Regions from separate parts of the Homo sapiens genome. Here region 2 is linked to region 1. Evidence: promoter capture Hi-C in 16 types of primary human blood cells and fetal thymus (Javierre and others, 2016). All regions are on one chromosome and are shown on one strand. The core of a region is centred on a gene start or on the middle of the fragment in contact, and the rest is flanking DNA. Distances in the headings are between cores, read along the strand shown. Region 1 holds the start of F2R (coagulation factor II thrombin receptor). Region 2 holds the start of F2RL1 (F2R like trypsin receptor 1).

Evidence for each region. Contacts are between HindIII fragments. The CHiCAGO score rates a contact against its expected background, and 5 or more counts as called.
Region 2: the fragment with the promoter of F2RL1 here is called in contact with the fragment with the promoter of F2R in region 1 in 1 of 17 cell types (endothelial precursors); the score reaches 5.0 in endothelial precursors.

What each region holds. Positions count from the first base shown.
Region 1 is chr5:76,714,710-76,718,105 of GRCh38, forward strand. It overlaps F2R (coagulation factor II thrombin receptor), which reads left to right and starts at 1,417. Exons shown (of 2, transcript NM_001992.5): 1 at 1,417-1,686. The coding sequence starts at 1,599. RefSeq lists a silencer at 1,223-1,472 and an enhancer at 3,266-3,396. The HindIII fragment of the contact is 2,891 bases long and covers 1-2,660 here.
Region 2 is chr5:76,817,664-76,820,673 of GRCh38, forward strand. F2RL1 (F2R like trypsin receptor 1) reads left to right here and starts at 1,367. Exons shown (of 2, transcript NM_005242.6): 1 at 1,367-1,601. The coding sequence starts at 1,520. RefSeq lists enhancers at 1,083-1,700, 1,701-2,318 and a silencer at 1,101-1,395. The HindIII fragment of the contact is 1,972 bases long and covers 838-2,809 here.

The DNA.
Region 1 (3,396 bases), core at 167-2,666:
TCAACCACAGAACTCCGAATATGCCCGCACATCAGTGCGCTGGGTTAAGAGGAGAAGGGGCTGCGGCTGAGCTTTCCTAGAAACAGCTATTTGGGGACCCATTTCCTGTTGGAGTCTGAAAGGCGCACGCACCAGAGCCAGTGGCAAAGCAACTTAAGCTGCAGGCTCCTCCTGCCCACCCCCAGCCGCGACGCCCCTGGGGGCCCTTAGCAGACTGCCAAGCGAGTGTCCCCGCCCTGTGCCTTGAATTTAGCCAAACTCCTTTAATATCAGGCCTGGCGCGGTGATTCACGCCTGTAATCCCCGCACTTTAGGAGGCTGAGGCAGGAGGATCGCTTGAGGCCAGCAGTGAAATTAGCCGGACATGGTGGCGCGCGCCTTTCTGTGGTCCCAGGTAATCCGGAGGCTGGGGCGAAAGGGTGGCCTGAGCCAGGGAGATCGAGGCTGCAGTGAGCCGTGTTGGCGCCACTGCACTCCAGCCTGGGCGACAGGGCAAGACCCTGCCTCAAAAACAAAACAAACTGTAATATCGTTCAAGAACGTGTGAAGGACACTTGGAAAGTTACCAGGCCATTTCTCTCCTGGGCGCCCGCGGCCCTAGAACGCCGGCCTCACCGGCAGACGCGCGCCCTCCTCCCAGATGCGCAGGTGACCCCGGCGGGCGGCGCGGGAAAGGGAAGAGCTCCGCGAGGCCGCGCGGGGGGGAAGCGGGAGAAGCCGCTCTTCCTATTCCACTCGCAGTCTGCGTGTGGGGGAAACGAGTGCCCGGCGTATGAAACGCCTAACTTCGCGAAATAAAGAGAGACGTATAAAAGTTCAAGAATTCTGTCCAGACTCAAGGGCCCTTTCTCATTTAGGGGCAACCCTGTCACTACATCATAAACTTTTAAATCCGTGATCCCCACGTTACAAAAGCAGAAGTCCCTTTTAGACTTTTAGCGAAAACTGAACTTTGCCGGTGTCCCACACGGAGGGAGGGAGGACGGGAGGCCACGCCAGGGCTGCGGGGCTGCAGGGCGTGGACGCATCCTGGCCGGGGCGTCCACTGTCGACGTCTCCACATCCCAGGAGGGTCGAGACGGCCGCGGGAAGCAGCCTGCGAGCCGTGCGGCCCCATTCCAAGGACCCCGCCAGTGTGAGTCACTGACAGCTTCGCGAATCAACGGTGCCCAGAGGAAAAAACTTCTCATTTGGACTTCTAGGCCCGGCAGTGGCCGGCGGCCAGGGCCCCCCAGTAGGGCAGGGCGGGGCGGGGCGGGGCGCACAGAGCCAGAGGGGCTTGCGAGCGGCGGCTGAGGGACCGCGGGGAGGGGGCGCCGAGCGGCTCCAGCGCAGAGACTCTCACTGCACGCCGGAGGGCGCCCTTCCTCGCTCGCGCCCGCGCGACCGCGCGCCCCAGTCCCGCCCCGCCCCGCTAACCGCCCCAGACACAGCGCTCGCCGAGGGTCGCTTGGACCCTGATCTTACCCGTGGGCACCCTGCGCTCTGCCTGCCGCGAAGACCGGCTCCCCGACCCGCAGAAGTCAGGAGAGAGGGTGAAGCGGAGCAGCCCGAGGCGGGGCAGCCTCCCGGAGCAGCGCCGCGCAGAGCCCGGGACAATGGGGCCGCGGCGGCTGCTGCTGGTGGCCGCCTGCTTCAGTCTGTGCGGCCCGCTGTTGTCTGCCCGCACCCGGGCCCGCAGGCCAGGTGAGAGATGCACGGGAATGGGGTGCGCGGGCGGAGGGACGCCGAGGGGAGACTGCGGGGGTCACTGTTGCGCCTTCTCCTCACCCCTGCCTCAGTTTCCTCCGAAAGCCAAACTGGCATTTGGGCTGAGATCTGGAGTTTTTTCCAGTCACGTTTAGGTGGGGCGTGCCACCCCCTTCGCGGGCCCAGCCGATGCCCCTTTGGACTCGATCTTGGAGGGTGCAGCCCGCCTGCCACGGGGTGTTGGATATGGAGGAGGATGGAGCGGAAGCCCCCTGGGGGAGCCTGCAGTCCTGCGTTGCACTTGTCATTGTGTTTCTCCCAGGACCACCCCCAAAAAGAAAAGCTCTCACGTTGCTCCACCAATAAACGTTTCGATCTTTAAAATATAAAGTGGCGAACCGCTGCCGCTGAAGTTTTGCTTTGTTGGAAGTTTTTTTCTTGCACATTTTACAGGCGAGAAAAGTGATGTAGAGAAAAGCCCAGGCAGTCCCTTGGCATGTTTAGCAGAGAATCAGTACCAGCAGCCCCCGGCCCGGCCTTGTGTCCAGGAGGTGCGCAGGGTGCGAGATATATGGTGACAATAGCAGAGGCTCCGCGTGGTGGCGGGGGAGGGGACATGGAGAGGATTTTGTTGTTACCTAGAACCCATTCCTTCTAAGTGAGTTGAAGAGAGAGATCCCTCCCCAGGACCGGGCTCCCTCGAACACTGTGGGATCCCAGTATTTCTTAACGAGATTTCTGATCCACTGCAAGAAGGTTGCTCCCCTAGAATATTTTCCCCACTAGTAGTCTATTTTTAAGTATCTGGCCACTTGACCAAATAAATAAATTTGATTAATTTATTTGGTCAAATATTTTCTGTATCCCTTTCCCCAAGAGCAGCACAGATGAGTTGTTTTTAGCCTGTAAAGGCGCTAATTAGAAAGTGAGAAAAGTGTTTTTGAATTTCCTAATAACAATAGTATTTTATAAGCTTTGAGCCATTTTTTTTACGCTGAAAGAAGTTCTAGCGGGTTTTCTTGTTATCGCTAAAAGAATGTGCACTCTATATTGCTCCCACACTCAAAAAAAAGTGTAGACACATCAAGATTAAGAGGTGACAAAGACATAGCATGTTCTCGCCTCTCTGTCTTTGTTCAGGGTGAGTTTTGAGATGCTTTTGGGAAAACTAAGAGCTCCAGACTGGGGCCCAGTGTTTAGCAGTAACTAGCCTGCCTGCAGATAAGTGAGCATTGTTGCCGAAAGTGTTTGAGAGAACACCGAGAACTCCTGAAAAATTGTTTGCGATGAGATATGATTTCACATACCATTATGTAATTTGCACAATGTAGTTTGAGGACACGCTCTTGAGAATCCAGTGTTTTGTTTGAGATTTGGATCATGGGGTGGAGAACAGAGCTTATAGAAATGCTGCACCCTTTCTCACAGTGGCCTCCCAGCAAGGTGTGTAGCCTCATTAGGGAGTGAAGTCAAAGCGTACTGGTTTCTGCCAAGCTTCTTACATCCTCATGGCAGGAGTGGTGCATGTTAATATGGACAGTGCTGGTGTAGACAGAAAGGCAGGTGGATGAACTTGGCTAGTTTATCAACACTGGATTCTGGAACCACTTTGGGAGGGAAAGAAGAAAGGAGTATGATAGAGGAAAAGGAGCGCTTGCTAAGTGCCATATTCCATGTCAAGCCCTGGGCCAGAAGGAATTTTCACTT
Region 2 (3,010 bases), core at 117-2,616, 100 kb after region 1:
ATTAAACCCCACTGTGGCTTCCACCAATTTTTGCTCTCTGGAGCAACTCAAAACACATCTAAATCCTCTTCTACAAGCGAATCCTTTAAATATTTGAAAATACCTATGTCTCTCTTCTGTGCTCTTCTGGTACCAATAGTTTAAATGGGTAACAGTAGACTTTGTTTTATTCAATCTTTTAAAAAGCAAATAAAAAGTAAGACATGCTGGGTGCGGTGGCTCACGCCTGTAATCGCAGCACTTTGGGAGGCGGAGGTGGGCTGATCACGAGGTCAGGAGTTCGAGACTAGCCAGACCAACATGGTGAAACCCCGCCTCTACTAAAAATACAAAAATTAGCCAGATGTGGTGCACGCCTGTAACTCCAGCTACTCGGGAGGCTGCGGCCAGAGAATTGCTTGAACCCAGGAGACAAAGTTTGCAGTGAGCCGAGATCACGCCACTGCACTCCAGCCTGGGAGACAGAGCGAGACTCCGTCTCAAAAACAAAAAGTAAGACATTACCAATATGATGCCAACCCTCATGCACTCATCCCCAACCCCACACTTCTCTTCTCCCACCCCTTCTATCTGCTTTTGTATTTATTTAGCCTATGGGATCCCAATGCAGAGGAGCCCTGGTGGACGCATTTATAGTGCAGCGATGAATAGAAGACAGTGATAGTCTTATACTGGAGTTGAAATGTGATAAACATTTATACACTGTGTTTATAAGTCGTGTAACTCTGGCCAATTTATCTGGTCTTTCTAAGCTCACTTTCCTCGTCTGTAAAATGGGAAGAATAATCATACTTATTGCGCTGGTTGTTATGGGGATTAAGCAAGATAATTCTCTAAAGCTTTGGCACTTGGCGCTGAAAGTAGCCATTCCATGTCTTCTTTCCCGCCCCGCCTCTTGTGCTCCCCACCGCTTTCGTGATGTCCGCAGTTGCCCACCTGCCTCTACAATAAAAAACGCATCCCTCCTCCTGCAGGGTCCACCGCACCGGGAAGCCCTGTCTGTATCAGTTACCAACCACAATTGCAGTGAGTACGAATCGTGGCTTTCCCACAGTCAGGAAAGGCAAGGGAGACCGACGACCCGCTTCTCTAGGAGTAAGTAAAGATTAAAGGTAGTTCGCGGTATAGCCTAGGCAGGGATTAACCCGTGGTCCCAGCGCTCCTGCTATTTGCATTCCAAAGCAGACACCTCATGCGCTCAACCCCGCCCGCAGGCGGCTCCCGCAGTCTAAGGGACCTGGCGCGAGTCCGGGAAGCGGAGGGCGCAGCTGCGCAGGGAAGGGGGCCGGGGGCGGGACCAGGGCGCGCGTTCCGGTCCCGGGGCGTGGCCTCCCGCAGGTGAGTACGCTGCTCCTTCGGTTTCCCTGAAACCTAACCCGCCCTGGGGAGGCGCGCAGCAGAGGCTCCGATTCGGGGCAGGTGAGAGGCTGACTTTCTCTCGGTGCGTCCAGTGGAGCTCTGAGTTTCGAATCGGCGGCGGCGGATTCCCCGCGCGCCCGGCGTCGGGGCTTCCAGGAGGATGCGGAGCCCCAGCGCGGCGTGGCTGCTGGGGGCCGCCATCCTGCTAGCAGCCTCTCTCTCCTGCAGTGGCACCATCCAAGGTGAGAAACCTGGCCAAGGAGGGCTCTTATCTCTGAGGAGCTGGGGTCCTGGGCACGCTGGGCAGACGGTGGGATCCGGGCAGGTGTGCGAAGGCTGTTCTGCTGCCGGCACCCATCTCTACGAATCCCTTAGCCTCCCCTTGGTGGCTTTGATGTGAGGTCTCTGCGCCAAGGAGGCACCCAGGTGGGACATGCGGGAGCAGCTGAAGTCAGCGGAGCCGGGCAGAGGCAGAGATTTCCCCAAAGACCCCACTTCCCGTAGAGGCTGTCATGCTGGGCACCTCCAGGCCCCAGCGTGGGTTCGGGGAAAGGGAGGGAAGGAAGGAGTAGCTGTGTCTAAAGGGTACGCAGAGGACCTAGTCCCCTCCCCGGGCTTGGTTGCTTTGTAAACACTAAGTCATTAAGAGCTTTTTGCCAACTCCGGAGACTTCCTCCGCTGGCCCCGCGGGGCCGGTGGGGTTAGCGAGCTGATTGCGCAGGGCAGGGCGGAGTGGGTGGGAACCCGCGGCCCGGGAGCCTTCTAGGTTGTTTTTTGCGTCCCTCTCCAACTGCTGGAAGCCTTTCTTCGGGTTCTGGCCCCTGCGTTCGAGACCCACCCGGGTCCCGCTGCTCCTGGCACCCACAGTGGAAGGCCCGGGGTATGAAAGTCAGGGCCGGTCCCTGATGGGTTCTGGTGGTAATGAGCGCTCAGGCCCGTTGGGCGCCACGAGGATTTACGAGCGGAACTTTTTGGACCCTGCCTTATATTTGACCAGTTGACCCTCTGGGCCTGGGGTTCCGGGACTTTCCTAGTGTGCCACCCGGAGCGGCCACTGGCTGCCACCCAGGTCTGCAGGCCAGAGGCTGGCTGGCCTGGGAACAGAGCAGCACTTGCGCCCGGCCGTCGCGTTCCTTGGATGTGCTGCTCCGGGTGTGCTCGAACTTGTATTGCTGGGAGTGTGTTCTTCCGGGCCCAGCAGGCCTCGCTGTGGCCGTGGGGGATGTTTGACCTGCGATCGCGCCACTGTGATCCTAACCGAGGCCCCTCTGTTTGGGGCAGCCTGGGTAGCAAAGGGAGCTTTTAATTTCCCTCAGAAATGCGCATTTCTCACTTTTATCCTCCTCTTCATAAAGACGAAGTAAAAGAGCAAGTCACAGTGGGTTGGAATTAGATGGAAGAATGTGATTCTTTTCCCTCTGCAGTTAGGGAAAAGGGTGTTAATGGTGTAAGCTTGAAAACTGTGCACCGCTGGTATATTTTTTTTTCTTAATCAGCATCAGAATAAAGGCATTTAGTTCCAGGAAGTATTGAAAACTGTAATGGACACCTCTCCTCTATGTCCTTTAAAGTTGGAAACTTAAAATTCAGGAGCAAAGGTTAGTATGTGCAAACTTTAAAAAAATACATGTTGGTATAGCTGATTCAACAT